Regions from separate parts of the Homo sapiens genome. Here regions 1, 3, 4, 5 and 6 are each linked to region 2. Evidence: promoter capture Hi-C in 16 types of primary human blood cells and fetal thymus (Javierre and others, 2016). All regions are on one chromosome and are shown on one strand. The core of a region is centred on a gene start or on the middle of the fragment in contact, and the rest is flanking DNA. Distances in the headings are between cores, read along the strand shown. Region 1 overlaps ENTREP2 (endosomal transmembrane epsin interactor 2). Region 2 holds the start of NSMCE3 (NSE3 component of SMC5/6 complex). Region 3 overlaps ENTREP2 (endosomal transmembrane epsin interactor 2). Region 4 overlaps ENTREP2 (endosomal transmembrane epsin interactor 2). Region 5 overlaps ENTREP2 (endosomal transmembrane epsin interactor 2). Region 6 overlaps APBA2 (amyloid beta precursor protein binding family A member 2).

Region 1 (4,109 bases), core at 1,075-3,574, 140 kb after region 2:
CTCTGTGCCCTGTGGAGTCATATATGGACAGCGCATTCAGACGCTGTAAGGTGCCCCGCACCTGGGGAGTCATATATACCACAGGGACCTCCTTCAGGGTGGCTTGTGGTGGGCCAGATCAGCTTCCGGCTGGCCCGTGAGCCCCCAGCACATCCTCACACAAGCAGACAGTCCCCAAGCAGCCACCCTGAAACACCTGGAGCAGCCAGGCAGGCTGCAGACAGTGGCCCCCTGAGCCCCGGCCAGGACCCCCTTTTTACTGTGGGTGCTAGAAGCAGATGTGTGGGAGCTGCCTGTGGAGAGGAATCCTTTAGTCAGGAGGTGGGCATGGCCCTGAAATCCCATTCCTGAACTGGCAGTAATGGAGATGTTCTTAGGTGTTTTTATAAAGCTGAGCTGGGACCTCTGCCTTCCCAATGTTGTTTAGTTTTCCATTTATGATAAAAATAATTCAAATCAATGTTATCAGTGGAGACAGTTGGCTGTGATAATAGTTGTCATCAGCACTGCAAGGGGAGCCCAGTACACTGTGGGGCACCTGTCATGATGTCAGGCCCAATTTGGGGGTCCATGGAAGGTCTGGGAGGTCAGGCTGGGTGGGCATCAGGCATGCGAGGTGCAGGGAGTGGGGCTGGAAGGGCTCCTGAGAGAGGGAACAGCCTGTGCAAAGGCTCAGAGGGAAGAAGGACAGGCACAGCGTATCCCCCAAACAGAAGGTCGTCCGTAAAGAGTCTCGGATGAGTGTGCATGGGTGTTGACCTGTCTGGGTGTGGTGGGTTGAATTCTGAGTGAGTGTCCACCAGATGACAGGAGCTGTAGTTCATAGTGATCAGAGTTAGCTGCCGCTGTCACTGGGGCCTGGGAAATGTGAGAGAGGGAGCCCCACAGAATGACACCATTGCAGGTGGCAGGAGAAAGGCACCCCCACACACGACAGGCTACAGGGCACTAGGCAGGGCTCCCAGGAGCCTGGATTTGCCAAAACCAGCAGTTCTGGAAGAAAGCAATGGGTCAGGTGCTGTCCAGAAGCTAACATCCAGGGCCACGTGGCGCACCATGGAGGGGCTGCTGGTGGCCTTGGCAGAGCAGCTTTGATGCGATGGAGGGCAGGGCTGGACCACACCAGGTAAAGGAGTGGACGGCACGTGCGCAGGGGAGCGCAGGTGTGGCTGTGGTTTTCAGACACCAGTGGGTGTCCCTGTGGGGAACTTGATAATCAAATCCTAATGACTGGGCCCACCCCCAGGGCTCCTGAGTCAGTAATTGGGGTATTGAAGTTGGGGGTATAAAAGCCTCAGCCCTGCTGCTGCTCCCACTTTGAGAGCAGGAGTAGATCACTCTCGCAGGATGTTTGGTAAAGAGGAGAGAAGATGGGATGGTAGGTAGAGGGGAGTGTGGATCTAGGACCTTGAGGAGGTTACCAGGCAGATGTGGAAGGACCTAGATACTGGGGATGGCAGGCCCAGGACAGGGCCCTCCGTGAGGGAAGCCCCTGGGAAGGCAGAGGGGAGGCTGACCGAGGGTGCAATGGGAAGCTCCATGCTGTAGCCAGCAGGGGCACCGGGCAGGGCGGCAGATGGACCCGGAAACCCCTGAAGGCGGCAGGGGTGTGTGGTTCCCCATGGCTGCCTTGTGGCGCGGGGGCAGCTCTGTCCCCTTCACCGCCTCTGCTCAGTGACCCTGCCTGCTGCCATCACAATTCCGGCTCTGCACTGGGACTGGCTCTGAGCCTGCTTCCCGGTTCTCCCTGCCCCTTGGACCCCTCTGCCTCCTGACGACAGGAACCCCTGTCCGTGGAGCCCAGACCCTGGCTTCCCGAGGGCCCTGCCTGCTGGAAGTAGCTTCTGGACCTGGGTGTGCCATTCAATGTCTGACCTCACAGCGGCCCCCGGAAGGAATGGGTTCCTGTTGTGTTCACAGTTTTACTGTTTTCTCTGAAGAATAGAATATATTGGAAGGGATCTGGCTGGTTCTGAAACCAATGCGACACCCTTCTCCAGAACTCTGGGGAATTCTCTCAGTTGAGATCTCTTTCTCAGAACTGCGGTGAGAACAGCTGAAAGGTCAGAGGCTGATCTCGAATTAGCATGTGTTGGCTCGGAGACCCCCAGCTCCCAGTGCTGGCAGGGGCACAGCACGACCGCCTGCAGGGCCTGTCCCTGGGCGCCCGCCTGGCAGCAGGGCAGCATCTGGTGATGAAGGGGCCGCTAGAGCCCTCGGGCCCACTGTCTTTGACCCCATGGCCTGGGAGCACTTTTCAATTCACGGCCGTGTCTGGGAGTCTGGAAGTCAAAGAAACCCATTACCGTCCACAGAGGGAAGGCCGTGCCGCCAGCTGCACCACCAGCTGTCCCCTCCCCAGGCAGCAAGGCCCCTCTGACTAGACAGCAAGGAGCACCCCTTCACAGCACGACCCCGCAGCCCGGGCGAGGCAGGGTCAGTAGTGCTCCTCCTTGTTAGGACAAATGGCGTAGAAAGTGCCCTCGGCCTCAGTTTGGATAAAGAGAGGAGGCTGCAGAAGGCGGGCTCTGTCGGGGAGGAGCTGACTCTGGGGCGGGGCAGGGGGTGTGCTGGGGAAGAGGTTTAACCCAAGAGGGGGCGGCCTCCACGAGGGTGGGCTCCGTGAGCACTCGCATGGGTGACGGGCCGTGCACACTTCCCTTCCGGCTTAGGTCAGATGCCATTCTCTTTCCTGTGGTTTGAGGCTGTACTCTTCAGCCAGTGTTCAAGGAGTGAGTTTCTTTTGATAGCAGGAAAGTGATTGAGAAATTACCAGTTTGATCTTCTTGTCTGGGTGGCAAGCGTATGGTTCAGGGGCCACTGACGACGGTGGCCCTCCAGAGGATGTAGGACAGAATCCCCCTGTCGTGGCACTCTCGCACTCTCACATGGAGACCGGACAGACACGAACTCCTTTGAGGCTTCTGCAGAGGAATCGGGCCTGGTGATCTGGGTGGGCTGGGGTGCGTGTAGAGGGGGAGGTGATATGGGGGGGCTTGTCGGGCTGGGGTGTGTGAAGGAGGGGGAGGTGGTGCAGGTGAAGGTCACAGCACCAGCTAAGGCGCATGGCAGGACAGCCTGGAGCCTGGCTGTGGGAGCTTCAGCACCCCAGGGCTGAAATCATTTGGGCAGATATTTTATGGCTTTGGATGTCAAACTGTAGAAGTGCCCTTGAGGAGTTTGGCGTCTTGGGTGCGACCCAGTGATGCTTTAGGAGTTTAATTTGGTGGCAGCATGCCAGGTGGAAGGGAACCTGAGTGCGAGACAAGGAGTTGTGAGAAGGGAGAGGGACCAGCAGAGTCCAGGAGCAGCACCAGGTCCTGACACTTACGATCCACATAAAATCTGTTAGCAAAGTGTCTTCAAAGTTTGCCTTGAGCCACCAGCCTAAAATTTTAACTCACATTTTCCATAATCGCTGGAATTGCCCCAAACGAAGAGCTCTTCATAAATCTGTTTCTAATGGTTGGCCTCACCCAGGAGTGGGAAACTACAGAATGGGGCAGAATTTCCATGCAAGTGTCTTAGCTTCATACAATTTGAATTATTTGTTGAAAAGCCAACTTATTTTCCAGTTACGATGACTGTTCAGAATAGCACATCTGCAAACCAGTAAGACCCAGGTGAAGTGATTCCCACAGCGTCTCCTGTCAACAGCCCTCTCCCCGCTCTCCTTCTGTAAGGAGCTGTGTTTATGAGCTTCCTCACTGAACTCAAATTTCAACTTAAATTCTATGCCACAAATATATTTCTTCCCCACCCTTTTCTACTGCTGTTATAGTTCATCAAAAATGCTGTATGAAAGGAAGTGCTATTTTCCCCATGGCTTAGCGTGGCAAGGTGGCTTCTGACATCAGGGAAGGGCCACATTTAAATTAAACTCTTGACACTCTGCTTGCGAGAGGTGATAGATAGGCTCCCAGGAGCTGCCTCCTCTGGAAACCAAATCTGACCGGGAGCCAGAAGGAAGTGAATGATGCTTCTGCACAACATGAAGTGAATCCAGTTTCCTCCTGACCTTGTCCCACTGTATATTTTCTTTCTCTTGTTTTATTTATATTTCTTTATTACCAGAAGATTTTCTTTTAGACAGCGGAGTTCTAAGTTAA
Region 2 (4,030 bases), core at 213-2,712:
AAACTGAAGCAGATGAATTTTCTCATTGTAAAAAAATGAATGCCTTGATAATATATTTGTTTTTCATAGTAGGCCTTTGTCATTAAAATTGATGCCTGAGGATATAGTTGCATCTTGTGTGGAACAGTAAGTTATTACTCATTGCATACCAGATTTTAGCATACTTGCATTAGTTCATGGAATATGATTTTACATTTACTATTGCAGTTCCAGTGCCATTATCAGATTGCATTTTCCTACTGAATTACAAACAAAAGTGTTATGCTACTAACAATTAACAAAATTTTAATAAGGTTGTGTTTGATGCTATTACTCAGATAATGTGTTCTAAATTGCTTTCCTTTGAATATATTTGCATTAAAGAGGAACTCAATTTGGTTCTTTGAAGAGTTTATCCACTTTCTGGGTAGCTTTAAAAAGACACAGGGAAATTCAGTTTCTTCTTTGCAAGTAAATAGAGAAGAAACAAATTTGCTAAGATCTGTAGAAGTCATGGCAGCAGACTGCTGATGGTTTGAGTTAATGAAATGACTCATTTTGGCTACTTGAGTTGCACAATTAAAATATACAGTAGAGACTGTATATCACATCATAGATGAGAGATAAATCCCCCAGTGTTCTCTTTTTTTTCCTCAAAGCTAATATATTATGAATTAAGAAATTTAAGAGCTCCACATTATTGCAATTCTTGATCAGTGATGCCCCAAATTAAGTAGTAATCTCTTGAGAGTGCACGTTTGTTTGCAGCATTCCTCTTACCCATTTCTGCTAAAATTGTGGTTGTGACGAAAGCAGTTGTTTTCCAAAAGATAAACCCATGTGACCAAGCTAAAACATTTACCTAATACTGACACGTTTTTTGTGGTCTTCTCATAGTTGTCTAGCTAAAGGAGTTTAATGCAGAGAATATAAATACGGAAATAGTGAAACTGAAGTCCTGCTTGCGCAGAAAGCCTGCAGCCGACTTTGGTTTTTAACAGACTCCACGGGGCATTAGAGAAAGTAACTGGGGGCAGTGGGATGGAGGGTATGAAATTGGGTGGAGGGACGAAAACTAAGAGCCCTCTGGGTCTTTTATGTCCTTCTACATTTTGTGTAGAAATAAATGTTTTTACTTTACTTCCACGGTCGGCCCTTCCTCTTCACCTTTTTTTTTTCTCACACGTTCATCCTCTGAATTCTTTCCGTTTACAAATGCTCCCGATTTAGAAACTCATAATACTGTCTGTAAAACTTGCCTGAGCCTGTGTGGTCTGAATTTAGCGACACACTTGTTTAGGAGTTTCGGTTCTCGCTCTCTGTTTGCATGGTTTGGTAACAACACTTCACTATACTAAAAATCATCGCCCGGACCTGCAGGGCTGCACGGAAAACGCTGTTCCTTTTGGTACCCGCCGCAGCCGCGCAGGCGCACCGCCCAGCCGCCCTGACGCAAGGCGCAGGCTTCATGACGCAGCACGCAGTCTCAGCCGACACTGCGCGCGCCTCCAGGCACCGGCGTTAGCGGGTCGCCGACCCGCAATCCCCGCCGCGGCTGCTTGCCTACCGGAGTGTGCGCCGGCACCTGCCGCCGGAGACATGTTGCAAAAACCGAGGAACCGGGGCCGCTCTGGCGGCCAGGCCGAGAGGGACAGAGACTGGAGCCATAGCGGAAACCCCGGGGCTTCGCGGGCCGGGGAAGACGCCCGGGTTCTCAGAGACGGCTTTGCCGAGGAGGCCCCGAGCACGTCCCGCGGGCCGGGCGGCTCGCAGGGGTCGCAGGGCCCCTCGCCTCAGGGCGCCCGCCGGGCCCAGGCCGCCCCCGCCGTGGGGCCCAGGAGCCAGAAGCAGCTGGAGCTGAAAGTGTCCGAGCTGGTGCAGTTCTTGCTGATTAAAGACCAGAAGAAGATTCCGATCAAGCGGGCCGACATACTGAAGCACGTCATCGGGGACTACAAGGACATCTTCCCCGACCTCTTCAAACGGGCCGCCGAGCGCCTCCAGTACGTCTTCGGGTATAAGCTGGTGGAACTTGAACCCAAGAGCAACACTTACATCCTCATCAACACCCTGGAGCCTGTGGAGGAGGATGCCGAGATGAGGGGTGACCAAGGCACGCCCACTACGGGCCTCCTGATGATCGTCTTAGGGCTCATCTTTATGAAGGGCAACACCATCAAGGAAACTGAAGCCTGGGACTTTCTGCGGCGCTTAGGGGTCTACCCCACCAAGAAGCATTTAATTTTCGGAGATCCAAAGAAACTCATTACTGAGGACTTTGTGCGACAGCGTTACCTGGAATACCGGCGGATACCCCACACCGACCCCGTCGACTACGAATTCCAGTGGGGCCCGCGAACCAACCTGGAAACCAGCAAGATGAAAGTTCTTAAGTTTGTGGCCAAGGTCCATAATCAAGACCCCAAGGACTGGCCAGCGCAGTACTGTGAGGCTTTGGCAGATGAGGAGAACAGGGCCAGACCTCAGCCTAGTGGCCCAGCTCCATCCTCTTGAAAGGTGGATTCAGAGGGACCCCCGGGACAAGGGTCTGAGACCCAAAGGCACAGTTTAGAGGATTGGGGGAAGGGAGAACGAACCCAGGGAGCATATTGCTGTAAACGCTTCAATGTGTGTAGCTTTAGGATGTGTTTGCAAAGTTTTGTTTTTTTAATGTTGTGTTATTTTGCTCCAGATTTTCATCTATAAACAAAGGAGCATTTGTTTTGATTTTACTCTTTTTGGTATAAAAAATTTTGCTAGCTTAGTAAAACGAATTGGAAAACTTGACTATGATCTGGAACAGATAATGCAAGAAGGAACACATAAGTAAGTTGCTTTGGTGCCAAGAAAATAAAAAAGCTATTATCAGGTCTCCTAACTACCCCAGTTTGTAAGGAAAAATAAAAGTTTTTATAAAATTAAAAAAAATAATTGCCTATATCCTTATTATGTTAACCTATTTTATTTTTCTATATTTCGTACATATATAAGTATTATTCATGGTTCCAAGCAATGAGTGTAATGTATTTTCTCCCAATAGTAATTGTTTATATTCATAATTATTCAGCTCTGCTGCTAAACACGTAGTTCCACTTCGTTTTTTTCTTCTTGCTACTGTAGTTATTACAATAAATACTGTATTTTTGAAGCACTTAAGCATTGTGTGTTTTTTAAATCGTGGGTCATGAGAGAATTTCATGACTGGAAATCAACATCTTAAAGTTTTTGCTACATATTAAGGTCAATGCTGTTTTGTAGAAGTTGTTTCACTTTTGTGTGAAACAAAATCAGGATCATGAGGTGAAATATATTTCTCACTGTGGATCTCAAAAAGGCTTATAAAACAATAGCGTAACCATTAACCATGCCTGTTTGGGAATCGGACTGTCTGGGTTGAGATCCTGGCCCCACCATAACTAGTATATGAATTTACATAGGTTCCTTAGTTTGTATGCAGATGTTTCTTGACCTGTAAAATGGTTTTAGTCCGTGATGTGGAGAATTTTATTTGTTATTCTTTAATGTTTTTATTTTTTATTCTCCTTGGTCTGGAGCTGCCACTTTTTAAATATAACTTTTCTTTATCTTTTTTTCCAAATCATTCCTAGGAGAGCAATTCCTGGTTCAAAAGATAGTCCTCTAGTCTCACTCTATTGTATGGGGAAATATAACGTGTATGGTGAGTGTGCCCCACATAGAACATAAGAGCAGGACATAAGATCTACCTCCTAGGGAGTTAGGTATAGGGAAAAGGGTATGGGTCTTGGGGCTGTCTGGCAAACTGAATTTGAATTACGGCTCATGCTAACTTGTCAGCATGGTGGTTGTGGGGGTAGGTTTTAAGCTCTCTGAATCTCAATTTATCTGTAAAATGAGAAAAATAATAGCTATATAATAGTTTTATGCACTAAATGAACTAGAAGAGTTCATAGTCCCATTGTGTTCCTCCATTACGTGTAGCAGATGCTGTTTTTAATGCAGAGATTCAACACGTTTTATTCAGTGGGCAAATAAGTTAATTGTTTTAGGGGGAGGTGCTGCAAATTAACCT
Region 3 (3,653 bases), core at 903-3,402, 160 kb before region 2:
GAAAGGGAATGCAAATGCCACGGCGTTTCCATTATTTCAGACTTCCTCATCAGAGTGGTCTTGTGTTCATTTCATTAATTTGAAGAATAGAAAATGAGGGTTCTCAGACCTGGAGTGAGAGGCAAATGGATTGATCTCTCTGCCTCCACCTCCCACTCCTTTCCCCTAGAAAAACTGTTATTTAAATTTTGAGTGTGTGAACATAGGCTAAGATTTATTTTACTTTTTAATTTGCTTACTGTTTTTCCTCAAGCTGAGTTCTCTATGTTCTGTGCTTGCAGATGCCAGGGAGTATAAAATCATATTATGAACAGACTAATGAGTTTACCATTGCTTAGATCTAAAAATAATTTTAAGAAAAATGGTTATATATGTTATATAAATTTTGGGAGAGGGTTTCACAAAGTAACTTTTATTTTGTGGGTTATATTTTTGCTAAAAGCATGTCTGTAAAATGTCTCCGGGGCAAGTTATAAAATTATATTTTTAATTAATTTAAATATAATTTAAAATAAAATTACAGTTTTAGGAGAATGACTCAAAGCAGTCTAACAGTTGTACAAGATTCAAAATGACACAGCTGGATCCTACTCCAAGCAGACCTGTTTCATCAAAATTTTAGATTCATAAAAACCATAAGTTATATAGGATTCTTTACTTATCACAATAAACCATACGTGCAGGGGCCAGCGTGGCATCGCAGGAGGGAAATTTATGGCCTGGGTATAAACCGAGGCTCCCCTGTTACTGCCAGCGTGATTTTACCCGGGGTTACGTAACCCGGCCACTGGTATCCTTAGAATACCAGATTATAATTGCATTTCCCTCTTTAGGTCCTTGTGAGGATTAAACAGGTAGAGTGCCCAGATGTAAAGCTTGAAAACAGTTTGGGCCCGCAGTGTGCCTCAGCCACCCTGAATACATGCTCCTGGAATGGGGTATATTTAGGGCAAGCAGCAGAAACCAGCTTTGGGTAGCTACGCACAAAGGAGTTACTAGAAAGACATCTGGGAGGGTGGGAGCTCACCGGAGCCGTGTCAGTAAGACCAGGAACCTGGGGACCATGAGGATCTCTAGCACAGTTTCATTGGACACTGCCTCTCTCTCCTTATGTCAATCCATCCGACTCAGAGTGGTCATTGGCCCTTTTTTGGGGAGTGGGTGGTCTCCAGGATAATTAAATCTAGGTCAGATTAGGCCTTGTTTTACCGAGTGATGGGTGTACCTCCATTCCTCCCTCCTTCCTCCCATCCTTCCCCCACCCATCTCTCAATGCATTCTTTTTGTTTGTTTGTTTGTTTGTTTTTGAGATGGAGTCTCACTCTGTTGCCCAGGCGGGAGTGCAGTGGCATGACCTTGGCTCACTGCAACCTCTGCTTGCCTCCCGGGTTCAAGTGATTCTCCTGCCTTAGCCTCCCGAGTAGCTGTGATTACAGGCATGTGCCACCATGCCTGGCTTCTCAATGCATTCATAATGATCATAGTCCCTGCTATGGGCCAGGCCTGTGCTGGGAGCTGGAGATACTGCTTTGGAGAAGACACACCAGGCCTCTGCCTGGCGAGTACACGTCCTAGAGCAGGAGAGACAGGCAAAAAATAAGGAAACCATTTCATACAGAGATACATGTTTAAGATAAAACTGCAAGGCCATCGAGAGGGGCCAGGGCTGTGCTGTGGACTCGGGGCTCAGCAGGGACCTCTCTGAGCCTGTGGCCTTTGAAATGAGGCTGGCAGGATGAGTGGAGCCAGCCATGGGAGGAGCCTTTTATCAATGGGGGAGACAGGTGGTATCTCTAACTCACCTTCTGAAAGAAAGCCTTCTTGCCTTTCCCCACTTCCCACTTTCTTGTTTCCGCTTCCTCCATTCCCAGGTTTTCCCCACGGAATTGATTTCTCCTTAGAGACAATGTGTATGTGGTGGTTGAGGTCTGTAACACAGGCTTCTGGGTTTCAGAGGAAGTAAAGGTTCAATAGGTATTTGAAAGTCTGCGCCCAGCCCTATTGTATAGATGGGGTATGTGGGTGGCTTTACATCAGGCGTGGATGAATGAAGCCACCTGGCTCGCTAGGAGTGCCTTTTGGTAACGGCTTCTTGAACTGGGACTCCTTCCCTCATCCTCACCCCATCATGGAGGTGCCCTCACGCCGGCCCGGATCGGGCATTGCACAGCCCTGTTGGCATTCCATACCTGCTTCTCTGTATTCCTTTGAGAACTACGGGGTCCGTAGTTTCAGCTCATGGCTGTCCGTAGATTTCAACCACAGACGAATTTGTCCCTTCTACCGGATCCTGTCAGAATTAGGACAGAGGGGAGGAAGGACTGCAACCAGCAAAGCAGGTGATGTTTTTAATGGGTTACATGTGCTAGAGAGTATACATGTAAGTACAAAATCCCAGCTCCAACGTGGGAGTCCCAAATTCAAAAATTAAATATTGGCTGGCCATGGTGGCTTATGCCCGTGATCCTAGCACTTTAGGAGGCCGAGGTGGGAGGATTGCTTGAGGCCAGAATTTCTAGACCAGCCCTGGGAACGTAGTGAGTCTCTGTCTCTACAAAATTTTTAAAATTACCCAGGTGTGGTAGCGTGTGCCTGTGGTCCCAGCTACTTGTGGGGCTAAGGCAGGAGGATTGCTGGAGCCTGAAAGGTTGAGGCTGCAGTGAGCCAAGATCGCACCAGTGCATTCCAGCTTGGGCCACAGAGCAACACCCCATCTCAAGATAGATGGATGGATGGATGGATGGATGGATGGATGGATGGATGGATAGATAGACATCTCAAGATGGATGGATGGATGGATGGACAGATAGACATCTCAAGATAGATGAATGGACGGATGGATAGATAGACATCTCAAGATGGATGGATGGATGGATAGACAGATAGGCAGATAGATAATTAACAGTGCAGGCATAGGATGCAGGAGACCTATCATTTTGACAGCTAATGTAAAAATAGATCTGGGTATGTCAGTTGAGAGCAAGTTCAAAGTGGGCAGATCTCATCAGCCACCCAGCAAATCCTCAATGCTGCAAATTCTGCTGCCTCTCTGTGCAGTGAATGTTGTTGCTTGTGACACTGGTGATCCGTGACTATATTTAAAACCTTTTATTTGGCCAGCCTTAGGGATGACTGATAGCTGCATTTTTGTATTTCCTGGTTTCTAAATGGGATGCCGTTTCCTGACATTTTCATTACTCTCACTTTTGTGTGTGCTGGTGAATGGCAGCACAGGAAACCCTGCATTATGAAGTCTGTCAGTGCTGGCGCTATTTATTATAGAAATAGTGACACATTTGGAATTTGGGCATGTACTAAGAGGACTGGCCTTTTAAGTTCTGTTTCCTAATAATGTATTTAAACAATTCAGAAATTTTACTTTTTTTTTTTTGGGAAAAGAGCTTAAGACAGATGGAAAAGTGAAGCTTTAAAACATGGAAGTGGCTGGGCACGGTGGCTCACACCTGTAATCCCAGCACTTTGGGAGTGCAAGGAGGGTGGATCACCTGAGGTCAGGAGTTCAAGACCAGCCTGGTCAACATGGTGAAACCCCATCTCTGCTAAAAATCCAAAAAAATAGCCGTGTGTGGTGGCGAGCACCTGTAATAACAGCTACTCGGGAGGCTGAAGCAGGAGAATCGCTTGAACCCATG
Region 4 (4,223 bases), core at 1,605-4,104, 130 kb before region 2:
GCAGAGAGGCCCTGGGATTGAGAACACAGATTCCTCCTACCACAAACAAATGTGGGTTTTTTTAGCCATAAACGTATACATTTTAAATTTATTAATTGTTTCTATTATGTCTTAAAATTGTGTGGTGCCTTAAAAGGCTTACTTCAAGATTCTTTTACAAATTTCTCAAATATTTATGTTTTAATTTATATTTTACTCTTTGATTTCTCTGGAATTTATTTTAATGTTGAAACGTAGAGATTAAGTTTCATTTCTTTCCAAGTGGCTAGCCAGTTGCCCTAGCACTTCTTATTGCGTAGATTTTCTTTTCCCCTTTTTGGTATTTTAATTAGAGTTGCATGGAACTTATACATTATTTAGTCTTTTTGTTTAAAAAATGAATTTCCCTCCCATCTAGTCATGAAGTCTTTTAGGTTCCCCAGTAGATGTTTAAGGATTCCTTGATATTGCTCCTGCTCACCTCTTATTAAATCTGTGTATTCTAAGATATTCTGCCTTTTTGCTTACCATTATAAATGGAATTTTTAATTGTATTCTCTTTTCTAACCAGTCTTTGCTTGCACATATGTAGGAAAGCTGTTTGTCTATAGTTTAAGAGCTTGTGTCCTAACCCTGCCCATCATTGTAACGTTGGGCAAGTCACTTAATCTCTTTGTGCTTTAATTTTCACATATGTGCACGGGCACAAGAGTCACACATACTAATTAGGGTTGTCAGGATAAAGTATAAAAACTTAGTAAGTATATCTGGCATATATTCAGGGCACAATAAATATTGATCCTGTTGACCTTGAACAACATGCGTTTAAACAGCATAGGTCCACTTATATGTGGATTTTCTTCCACCTCTGCCACCCTGAAATGGCAAGACTGAGCCCTCCTCTTCCTCCTCCTCCTCCTGAGCCTACTCAACAAGAAGATGACAAGGATGAAGGCCTTTATGATGATCCACTTCCACTTAATGAATAGTAAAATATATTTTCTCTTCCTTATGACTTTCTTAATAGCATTTTCTTTTCTCTTTATTGTAAGAATACAGCATATAGTACATACGACATCCAAAATGTGAATGTGTGTTAATCAACTGTTTATCTGATTGGTAAGACTTCCAGTCAACAGCAGACTATTACCAGTTAAGTTTTGGAGGAGTGAAAATGTTATACATAGATTTTTGACTGCACAGGAGGTTGGTGCCCCTAACACCCCTCTTGTTCAAGGGACAACTATATATAGTATTATAATTTTCAACATATTGATTTTGTAACCAGGTAACATACTGAATTTTCTTATGGTTTCTTATTCTTCTGAATCAATTCCTTTGGGTTTTCTAATTAGGTGATCACTTTATTTTCAAATAGTAATGATTTTGCTTCTTCTTTCCAATGTTTATAACTTTCTTTTATTTTTCCTTTTTAGTGTTATTAGCTAGATATATTAGTTTTCTATTGTTATGTGGCAAATTGCCACAAGCATAGCAGGTTCAAACAGCTCAACCTTATTATTTCAGAGTTTCTAAGGGTTGGGACTCTGGAGTGTTTTAATTGGGTCCTGTCCTCAGGGTCTGCAGGCTGAAATCCTGGTGAGGCTGGAAGCATCTTCATCCAAAAGCTTTACGAGGGAAAGATCCACTTCCAAACTCCTTCAGGTTGTTGGCAGAATTCATTTTGGGGGTTGTGTGACTCAGCCCTGCTTCCTTGCAAGCTGTGGGTGGGGAAGCTCTCAGCTCTTAGAGGCATCTCACCACATGGCAGCCCACTTCTTCAAGGCCAGCAGCACAACTTCTTACACCTCAAATTGGGACTTCACCAAGGGCCCAGAACCAAAGGTCTTGCCTGATTAGGTCAGGCACACCCAAGAGAACTTCCCTTTTGATGAACTCAACAGCAAACTGATTTGGGACCTCCCATCCACCATTGTCAGGCAGCGTAACCTAATCACATACATATTCACAGTCCCACCCACGGCCCAAGGGAGAGGATTACACAGGGCAGGTACACCAGGGAGTGGGGACCTTGGGGGCCATCTCATAATTCTGCATACCACACGAGTACTTTCAGAATCATTTTGTTTTATTTTATTTTATTTTTGAGACGGAGTCTCGCTCTGTCACCCAGGCTGGAGTGCAGTGGCGTGATCTTGGCTCATTGCAACCTCCGTTTCCCGGGTTCCAGTGATTCTCCTGCCTCAGCCTCCCGAGTAGCTGAGACTATAGCCATGTGCCACCACACTCAGCTGATTTTTGTATTTTTAGTAGAGACAGGATTTTACCATGTTGGCCAGGCTGGTCTAGGACTCCTGACCTCAAGTGATCCGCTAGCCTCGGCCTCCCAAAGTGCTGGCATTACAGGTGTGAGCCACTGCCCCCAGCCCTAAGAGTTCTTTTTTAAAAGAGAGGATGGAGATCAAATTCTATTGGACGTCTTCCATGCATCTACTGAATGAAAGAATTTTTCATTTTCGTCACATTAATATGCAGAACCATCTTTTCATTCCTGACGTGAACCCCCATGTTCTTCATTCTTTTAAATGTACTGCTGAATTCTGTTTTCTAACCTTTTATTTAAAAATGATGTACCAGTAAAATTATCATTTTAATGCACTGTCCTATGAGTTTTTGGCATTTAAATTTGTGTGTTTATATCTAGTATGTGTAGTAGATGAGGAATGCTAAGTTTTTGAGTCTCTGTCTTTCATGTTTGGTTTTGTTTGGATGTTGGCCCTTGAAGTCAGGGAGAACCTGCTTTGTGAGGGGAGGGAATAACTTAATGTAACTTTTGCCAAATAAATAATGAGGGGGAAGGAGTTAAATATCTGAAAGAGTCCAACAATGCCTGATACATGGGGGAAATTCATTAAATATTGATCCAGCACAGGAAAAATAAAATAAAAACAATGTACTTCTGTTTAAAAGCCACTGGTCTGTTCCTTATTTTTGTGATATTTTACAGGTTTGTGATTGTTACACTGACCTTTATAAAGACAATTTGGAAGTTCCCCCTTTTTTCCCTCTGTGCTCAGAAAAAATTTAAACAGCTTTGGAAATCTTCATACGTAGAAGTTTTTGAAGACTTTGCCTACAGCTGTTTGAGCATATTTCCAATTTCTTGGTGTTTATGGGAACAGTTAGTGTTTTGGTCTTTTGGGGAATCAATTGTAGTAATTTAGCAAGTTATCTTTGTCATCCTGGGTTTTGAATTTATTTGCATAGAGCCCATGCTTTGTTTATTATACTTTTTGCCAGTTGACAGCATCGCACCTCTTAATGATGTACATTCTCTACAGCCCTGTAAGTGAGGACCACTGTTCTTTCTAACCACTGCTAGCTTGACAGGCAGCAAGGGACCTCTTATTCCACTTTGCATTTTATTGATTACTTACTTATAAGGTGTTTTTCTGAGTAAATTTTTTTTTCCTTTTTTTAAGATGGAGTCTCACTCTGTCGCCCAGGCTGGAGTGCAGTGGCACAATCTCGGCTCACGGCAACCTCTGCCTCCTGGGTTCAAGACATTCTCCTACCTCAGCCTCCTGAGTAGCTGGGACTACAGGCACATACCACCATGTCTGGCTAATTGTTTGTATTTTTAGTGGAGACAGGTTTCACCATGTTGGCCAGGCTGTCCTCGAGCTCCTGACCTCAAGTGATCTGCCCACCTCGGCCTCCCAAAGTGTTGAGATTACAGGTGTGAGCCACCCACTGTGCCTGGCCTCTCAGTAAATTTTTTTGAGGAGCAGTTGCCTTTCTGTGAGTTTTAGCCAGTAACCTGGGTGGTTAATTATTTACATTTAATATTTTAATCATCTTGTAATGTATTTTGGTTTGTGGGAGGGAACTAATTTTAATTTCTCTATCTGCTTATTTATTTACATTTAACAATTATCCCAGAACCATTTATTGAATAGCCTTTTCCCCCATCAGTTACTATGTCACTCCTTGTATAACTGAATTATATAAATTAAATTGTAAAAACTAATTTAATGTGTTCACATGCAAAAAAAATGAAGTTGGACCCTTAACTAACATCCTATACAAAAATTAACTCAAAATGGATTAAAGACCTAAACATAAGAGCTAAAGTTATAAAACTCTTAGAAGGAAGCTTAGGGGAAAAGCTTTACAACCCTGGGCTTGGCAGTGATTTCTTGGATATGATGCCAAAGGCATAAGCAACAAAAGAAAAGTGGCAAACTGGACTTCATCAAAATTAAAAACTTGTGCATCAAAGG
Region 5 (3,685 bases), core at 78-2,577, 180 kb before region 2:
ACTGGGATATGGCTGCTCTTTACTCCCCCCAACCCCCCACCCTCTGCTTTTGGGTTTTGCTTTAAGTGTTATGTTGAGACACCAGTTAAATATATTCCTTCAGATATGAGAAATGCATTCTGTATTTTAAAGATGAGAGAGCTCCCAGTAGCAGAAAAGACGTGGATTTGGGCAGCATGCTTGCAGAAGCATCTCTGGAGCCTGGAGCGCAGACTCACACCTACCCTGTGACGCTAAAGGATTCCCGTCTGTTCTTCTTAAGAATCTGCACTTAGGACTCAGAGGCAGGTAGGACTGTGACTGTGGTGTGGTATAATTGTCTCTGATAGGCCAGATACTACCAAGAAAACAGAAGCAGATGAAACAGCCAAGCAGCCCGTGTTCTGCTTATTCGCCACATCACATTAGTTGAGCCCCATTCCATACCATGTGGCATGAGGCCTCCTTCCTGGTGTTTCAGAGGCTTCTGGGAGCTGACGAGGGTGAAGGGCTATGGCTTCCCTTCTCTGGTTACTGCTTGCCCCAAATCCCTGCTCTCTCAGGATTCCCAATATCCACTTCCCCTCTTGCCTGCTCTGGGATGGGGAATGGGAGATGGGGGTGGGTGAGGGGCTGTCAGCACCAGGTGCCAGTGCTGCTGAGAAAGCAGATGGTTGTGGGTAACACTAGAGGCCACTCATCATTTGTGCCTTAGTGTCAATAAAGTGTGTGTTAAACATTTCTGGGTTTGGCTTAGGGAATTAATTGAGAGTTGTCTATATAGAAAAGTGTGTAAAATGTGGCTTAGAAAACATGCATTTTAAATGAGTAAAAGTTAACAATATAAAAAGGCATTTGATGGTCTAGAACATTTTTTTCAGGAAAAAGGTTTTAAAACCCTTTAGTGAATACACATTTACTTAACTGAAAAGCGAACTGTAGCTTTTGGCCCTGATATTAAAATACAATAAATATCTACTGCTGAGCAGGATTCTTCGCAGAGGTCTGCACAGAAGGCCTGGGGAGGACCCTCTGGCTTTGCCCCGAGCGTTGCCTCCAAGCTAGGCTTGCCAGTGAGCAGGACTTGCAGGGGGGTGGGGCCCCTAAGGTCACTGGGATGAGCAGGACAGTGGCTGTGATAGGAGTGGTGGCCCCTCGAGGGAGCCCTGCAAGGTTCCGGTGGGGAGGGGGCTTCGCTGCCTGCAGTCTTAATTCCTCACTGATAGTGAAGACCCTCCCGTGGTGGGCAGAGGGGAGCTGCTGGGCTGTTCTTGAACCATCCTTTCATGCATTTCAGTCACGCCCCGAGTCATCCACAGCTGCCCTGACCTCTGCCTGCTCTCTGTGTCCCTGTATGGACTTGCCTGACTTGTGACTGGCCCCTCTCAGCCCCTCGCGCCCCCGACATGAGCTCTCTGTGACAGTGGTCTGGGAGTGCCTTTTCTCTGTGGGGTCGGTGTGCTGTGTCTGCAGATGCTCAGCTGAGCCACCTGCTGGCCTGGTCCTGCAGACTCCTGTGGGAGAGGCGAGAAGGGGTGGGGAAGGATGTGGAGAAGTCCAGGGTACCTAACAGGCGAGAGGCGAGGGCCGAGGGCCGAGGGCCGGCCAGAGAGCTGCCACCCCCCATCATCAGCGAAGGACCAGGGAGACCGGGGCACTCTTTCTAGACCCCATAGGGATTGGGGTGGGGCCACCAGAGGCTCAGTGGGAACAACTGCAGGGAGTGGACAGTTACTCTTACTTATTTGGAGCTGTTAACACTTCTTTTTTTTTAACCTTTATTTTAGGTTCAGTGCAGGTTTGTTATACAGGTAAATTCGTGACTTGGGGGTTTGGTGTACAGATTATTTCCTCACCTGAGTACTAAGCATAGTACCCAACAGTTTTTTTTTTTCCTGAATCTCTCTCTCCTCCCACCCTCTTCTCTCAAGTAGGCCCCAGAGTCTGTTGTTCCCCTCTTTCTGTCCATGTGTACTCATTGTTTAGCTCCCGCTTTTAAGTGAGAACATGCAGTATTTGGTTTTCTGTTCCTGCATTAATTTGCTAAGGATAATGGCCATCTATGTTCCTTTGCAGGAACATCATTCTTTTTAATGGCCGCATCATATTCCATGATGTATATGTACCACATTTTCTTTACCCAGTCTACCATTGATGGGCATTTAGGTTGATTCAGTGTCTTTGCTATTGTGAATAGTGTTGCAGAGAGCATATGCATGCATGTGTCTTTATGATAGAATGATTTATATTCCTTTGGGTTTATCCTCAGTACTAGGATTGCTGGGCTGAATGGTAATTCTGTTTTTAGCTCTTTGAGGAATTGCCACACTGCTTTCCACAATGATTGAACTAATTTACACCCCCACCTGCAAAGCAAGCAGTGGGGAAAGGGCTCCCTATTCAATAAATGGTGCCGGGATAGCTGGCTAACCATAGGCAGAAGACTGAAACTGGGCCCGTTCCCTTCACCATATACAAAAATCAACTGAAGATGGATTAAGGACTAAAATGTAAAAACCCAAAACTATAAAAACCCTGGAAGATAACCCAGGAAATACCATTTTGGACATGGAAACTGGCAAAGATTTCATGACAACACCACCAAAAGCAAAAATTGACAAATGGTACATAATTAAGGAGCTTCTGCACAGAAAAGAAACTATCAATAGAGAAAACAGGCAGCCTACAGGATGGGAGAAAATATTTGCAAACTATGCATCTGACAAAGGTCCAATATTCAGAATCTACAAGGAACTTAAACAAATGTACAAGCAAAAAACTAAGAAACTCATTAAAAAGTGGGCAAAGGACATGAACAGACACTTTTCCAAAGACATACGTGCAGTCAACAAGCCTATGAAAAAATGCTCAATATCACTTATCATTAGAGAAATGCAAATCAAAAGCACAATGAAATACCATATCACACCAGTCAGAATGGCTTCTATTAAAAAGTCAAAAAACAACAGGTACCGGTGAGTTTGTAGAGGAAAGGGACTGCTTAAACACTTCTTAATACAAGTAAATATTAGGATTTCCCAATTTCACCATAATGTGAATGTGTATTTAAAAGATAGAGAATTATAGTACTCTACAAAATGTTTGTCTAATTAAAACCATGAAGTGGACCTTTGAGGATGAGAAAAATAAAGTCTTGAGTCTTAAGCTGCCACATTGTTCTGTTAACAAGTTTGGTGTAATTTTGTTGTAACAAACTTCTATTTTCTTCTTTAATATTAAAGTTTTTGTCTTGTTCATCTTACTCTGCTTATTCTTCTGTGCTTCAGAGTGGTTCTTTAGTGTGACTAACATGTTGGTTATTTATTCTGCTGAGGTTTTTGTCCTATAAAGGACATAAAGGGTGATCATTCACATTCATCACATTCCGAAAGCAGAGAAGGGTAGGTATTTGTGCCTGCACTTCACCTGCCAAGCTCCTTCTTCTTCCTGTCCCTGTCTTTCTATCCAGTCAGTGATCAAGCCTTCATCTTCCACCTCCCTGGGCCTCCCCAAGCTGACCCCTGTCAGCACCATGGCCAGCACCTCAGCTCAAACACATCGTTTCATGGAGGTTGTCCTGTCCCTGGTTGCTTCTTTCTCTGAGCTTCTCCTAGTTTGGATGTCACACCTGCCTTCAGATGTCTCTTTATGCTGCCTTGCCTCCTTTGAGCTTGGCAGCTTCACAGAGACCCCTCTGTTCTCATTA
Region 6 (3,906 bases), core at 642-3,141, 170 kb after region 2:
GGACAGGAATCTCCAGCCAGCATCTTGCCCACAACCCCTACCTAACAAGACTGCACACAAAGCTCAAAAAAACTAATCAACTGGTCTTTTATGCTTTTGTCCTCTGTTCACAAAAGAAACTCGAGTGTTTCTGCAACCTCTGGACCTCATTTCTTCCTCACAGAATCCACTTTGCAGTGCATGCTGCTTCACCTTTGTCTCAGCTGCTGACTTTTTTTCTGGCCAAAGCCATGAGGCTGTTTCATAACCACAAGAGTCACCTTCCAGGGAGGGACACTGAAAGGAAACAGTTGGAGTGGCTCTTCAGCATCTCCTGATTTCTGTCACTGTCATAAATGCCTGAATCAATCCCCAGGTGTCAGAAACATGTTCCTTCCCCAGCTCCTATCAATGGCAGATCCCTCCTCCTCCTCACAGAGGCTGCCTACCAACATGGCCGCATCTGCTCTCCTGCTCTGAATGGCTACTTTGGCCTTCCCAGTCTCTCACCTGTTCCCTCCTCTCCAGCTCCTCTGCCCCAACAGCTTTAATTTGCATGCCCTGTCCAGAATCCAAAGATCCAGAAGGGAAAGGAAAGGAAGGGAGAAGGGGCCAGTGGAGTGAACCCTGAACTGGGCCAGCCTAGGAGATTTCTCATCTCTCCTTCACAGGATCCAGCGGAAGAGTTACTCTTTCAGCTGGGGCTGTGGGTATTAGGAGGTTCAGAGATGTTCAGGAACTTGTTTAAGGCTATACAGCTCATGAGGATGGGGCTCAGCTTCAATCCCCAAGCCCATCCTCCCACCCCAGGTGTGGCACCCTCCATGTACACTGGCAAGAAGAGGTACTGGGGCAGGCCTAGCAGCTGTACCCAGAAAGGCCCGCCTGCAAGGCTGGCCCTCTCTGGCATCTGGGAACGTGGATCTCAGGAGGGTACCCAGCACCCGAACTGACAACCATGGTTCCTTTTGCCTAAACCGTTTGTGCAAACAACGTGGTCTAGGCTGGACACCTCTTTTGCCTCTGGGAGTCTGGAATTTTGGTAGCTGCCAGGCAGAGGGTGCCTATGACCAACTCCCAGTAAACACCTTGGGCTGAGTGTCTATGAGCTTCCCTGGTAGACACAACTTCTCTGTTGTCACAGCCCCTTGCCAGGGAGTTCAGTGTGTCCTGTGTGACTGCGGGGAGGGCTCTGGAAGCCTGCATCCGCTTTGCTGATTCTGCTCTGGAGCCATCTGCTGAAATAAATCTCAGCTGTGAGCTCACTGAGTCCTGTCAGTCCTCCAAACCACCCAGCCTGTGGTGGTCTTGGGGACACCCAGCACAGGTGGGTGATGAGGCATGGGGCTCGGAGGGTTGGTGGGGGGATCTAGTCCAGATGGTTTGCCCACAAAAGATCAGAAAATGAAGTCAAAGTCTGTGAAGCGTCGCAAGCCCAGTGCCTGAGCCCTGGCACCTGTCTCCCTGAGTTTTCACCAAGTGCCAGGCTCCAGGAGGGGGCTGGTTCCAGGGTAGGGGGGTGCAGGACACAAAGATCAGTGGGACAAGGTGCAAGCCTGGACACAGGACAGACATGGGATGAGGAAGGGCGCCCCTGTGCCCGTATCAGGGTATGTGAGGGCCTGGAGGATGGTCAGGGCACGGCACTGGGTTGGGAGTGGTGGGCTGCAGTGTGAGCCACATAGTGGGGGCTGCTGCCTCCTCTGTCCCCAGAGGTCAGGCTACCCGGGAGTGGGGAAGCAGGGGAGGGCCCAGGTAGCCCAGCAGGTCTTCCCACCTACCTCCCGCCCGCAGAGCCCTGGGGTGACGCCAGCACGACTGCTACCTGCTGTGCGCTCCTTGCTCCTCCCGCAGCCCGGGCTATGGGCCTTGGGTTGATGGGCGCAGAGAGCACAGGAGAGAAGCTGCTGAGAACGAGGGCCTATACCATGGGACAAGAAGGAGTCGAACTTAGGAGTTTACCTGATTTTGAACAACTGTCTTAAACGCTTACCTGCGTGTCTGCATTTAAAACCTTGATCCTCTGGGTGGAAATGAAGAGGTCCACTTCCGTCAGCGTCTGGGCATCCCCCTCAGAATTCTAAGAAGGACAGTGGATATTGTTAAAGTCCAAAAACCAACTCGGAATAGAGGACATGCAAATAGCATTATGACAAAATGCTCAACATCCCTAATCACCAGATAAATCCAAATTAAAACCACAACAATATATCATTTCATATCTGTCAGAATGGCTCTCGTCAAAAAGATAAAAGATAAGAAGCACTGGCGTGGGGTGGAGAAAAGGGAACCCTGGTACACTGTGGGAGGGTGTGAATCAGTGCAGCCACTGTGGAGAATAGAATGGCGGTTCCTCCAAAAATTCAAACTACAACCACCATGTGATCCAGCAATCCCACTGCTGGGCATATTTCCAAAGGAAGTGAAATCAGCGTGTCTAGGAGACACCTGCACTCCCATGCTCACGGCAGCACTATCCACAACAGCCAAGACATGGGATCAACCCGAAGTCCATTCACGATGAATGGATAAAGAAATGTGGCGCGCAGACACACTGGAGGCCTACTCAGCCTTCACAAAGAAAAAGCCATGTCATTTCCAACACATGGATGACCCTAGAGGACATGCTGTGAAGTGAAATCAGCCAGGCACAGAAAGATAAATACTGCACCATCTCACTCAGGTGGAAGCTACAAATGTCGATCTCACAGAAGTAGAGAGCTGAATGGTGGTTATCAGGGGCTGGGGCAAAGGAGTGAAGGGGGAAGTATTGGTCCACGGACACAAAGCTCCTGCTAGACAGGAGAAATGAGTTCAAGAGATCTATTGTGCATCATGGTGACTACCGTTAATAATATTTCATATTCTTAAAAATTGCTAAGATAGTGAATGAAGTGTTCTCATTACAAAAATTAAAACTAGGTGATGTAATGCACGTTAATTAGCTAGATATAGTCATTTCACAATGTGTATATGCTCCAAAATATTATGTTGTACATAACAAATACATACAATTTTATCCGTCAATGTAAAAAGTAATAACTCGAAGGAAGGCTCGGCAATTTTAACAATTACCCAGAGTCCACGTAGAAGGAAATGCTACTGGCCATCAGAAATCTACCTGCACGCCACCGGCCGCATCATCTAGCTAAGTGTGAGTTCTCGAGGCAGTCTGTAAGAGGCACCTGGGAGGGAGGAGGGCCAGCCCCCGGGAGCTTGACCGAGATGGGGCGGGACGCCTGGGTCTGTCGCCACAGCCCCTCCTGCCAGTGGCAAGCAAGGCCCTCTGGCTGACCCCTGTGGAATTTATAGACTCAGGTTACGTTTCCTGGATTTGGGATTCTAAGTATCCTTAAGAAATGGGGAAGACATTGTCAGAGAAGCTGAATGAAAATGTCAGCCTTTCCTTCTGATTTAATCAGTCACCACCATGTCCATCCCACAGCGTCCTTGGGGGACTGAGCCCTGGGGCTGGCCTAAGTGCTGTCCTCACAGCGACAGAGAGAAGCCAAGAGAGGTGCCACACAAATGGCCTAATTCGTCACCTGTAGCCACTGTAGTATGTCTGGCATATGGTTGTGAGACGAGTTTCATGGGCTCTTCTGAGCTGAGTGAACTCTTCAGAGTCTGCCCCAAACTAGGATAGCCTTTAATTGGTTTTTACATTTGTAAGAATCCTAATTACCACTGCACGGTGGCAATGAATTTCAAGTTCTATTGGTTTGCCCACCGAGGTGAATAATTCTCCGTGGTCACTGGGGAGCCCAGGGTGGTCTATTTTCCATTTCGAAACAGCAAAAACTATGATTTAATTATTCACTAGAAAATCTGAAATAAGAAATCTCCCTGCTGACAATTCCTCAAGAATTTTGAGTTTTAGAGAGGCCCGGTATTGTAATAATAAATGTGTATTTTAGCTCAATTTTC

The links. Contacts are between HindIII fragments. The CHiCAGO score rates a contact against its expected background, and 5 or more counts as called.
Region 1: a fragment that was not itself captured here is called in contact with the fragment with the promoter of NSMCE3 in region 2 in 1 of 17 cell types (naive CD8 T cells); the score reaches 5.4 in naive CD8 T cells.
Region 3: a contact is called between a fragment that was not itself captured here and the fragment with the promoter of NSMCE3 in region 2, in 3 of 17 cell types (naive B cells, megakaryocytes and total B cells). The highest score is 5.7, in naive B cells.
Region 4: a contact is called between a fragment that was not itself captured here and the fragment with the promoter of NSMCE3 in region 2, in 2 of 17 cell types (total B cells and naive B cells). The highest score is 7.7, in total B cells.
Region 5: a contact is called between a fragment that was not itself captured here and the fragment with the promoter of NSMCE3 in region 2, in 2 of 17 cell types (megakaryocytes and total B cells). The highest score is 5.7, in megakaryocytes.
Region 6: a fragment that was not itself captured here is called in contact with the fragment with the promoter of NSMCE3 in region 2 in 1 of 17 cell types (naive CD4 T cells); the score reaches 5.4 in naive CD4 T cells.

What each region holds. Positions count from the first base shown.
Region 1 is chr15:29,130,508-29,134,616 of GRCh38, reverse strand. All of the region lies in intron 7 of ENTREP2 (endosomal transmembrane epsin interactor 2), which reads left to right. Among named protein-coding and RNA genes, the nearest start is that of NSMCE3, 140 kb to the left of the region's middle. RefSeq lists an enhancer at 1,648-2,264. The HindIII fragment of the contact is 7,022 bases long and covers 1-4,109 here.
Region 2 is chr15:29,267,254-29,271,283 of GRCh38, reverse strand. NSMCE3 (NSE3 component of SMC5/6 complex) reads left to right here and starts at 1,462. Exons shown (of 1, transcript NM_138704.4): 1 at 1,462-4,030. The coding sequence starts at 1,579. The coding sequence ends at 2,493. The region is part of intron 2 of ENTREP2 (endosomal transmembrane epsin interactor 2); the gene reads left to right. RefSeq lists enhancers at 1,166-1,665, 1,666-2,167. The HindIII fragment of the contact is 8,019 bases long and covers 1-4,030 here.
Region 3 is chr15:29,428,304-29,431,956 of GRCh38, reverse strand. The region is part of intron 1 of ENTREP2 (endosomal transmembrane epsin interactor 2); the gene reads left to right. Among named protein-coding and RNA genes, the nearest start is that of ENTREP2, 140 kb to the left of the region's middle. The HindIII fragment of the contact is 2,550 bases long and covers 878-3,427 here.
Region 4 is chr15:29,396,587-29,400,809 of GRCh38, reverse strand. All of the region lies in intron 1 of ENTREP2 (endosomal transmembrane epsin interactor 2), which reads left to right. Among named protein-coding and RNA genes, the nearest start is that of NSMCE3, 130 kb to the right of the region's middle. The HindIII fragment of the contact is 2,489 bases long and covers 1,610-4,098 here.
Region 5 is chr15:29,449,173-29,452,857 of GRCh38, reverse strand. The region is part of intron 1 of ENTREP2 (endosomal transmembrane epsin interactor 2); the gene reads left to right. Among named protein-coding and RNA genes, the nearest start is that of ENTREP2, 120 kb to the left of the region's middle. RefSeq lists a silencer at 3,406-3,606. The HindIII fragment of the contact is 4,810 bases long and covers 1-3,685 here.
Region 6 is chr15:29,096,643-29,100,548 of GRCh38, reverse strand. It overlaps APBA2 (amyloid beta precursor protein binding family A member 2), which reads right to left. Exons shown (of 15, transcript NM_001353788.2): 9 at 1,973-2,059. Among named protein-coding and RNA genes, the nearest start is that of NSMCE3, 170 kb to the left of the region's middle. The HindIII fragment of the contact is 7,917 bases long and covers 1-3,906 here.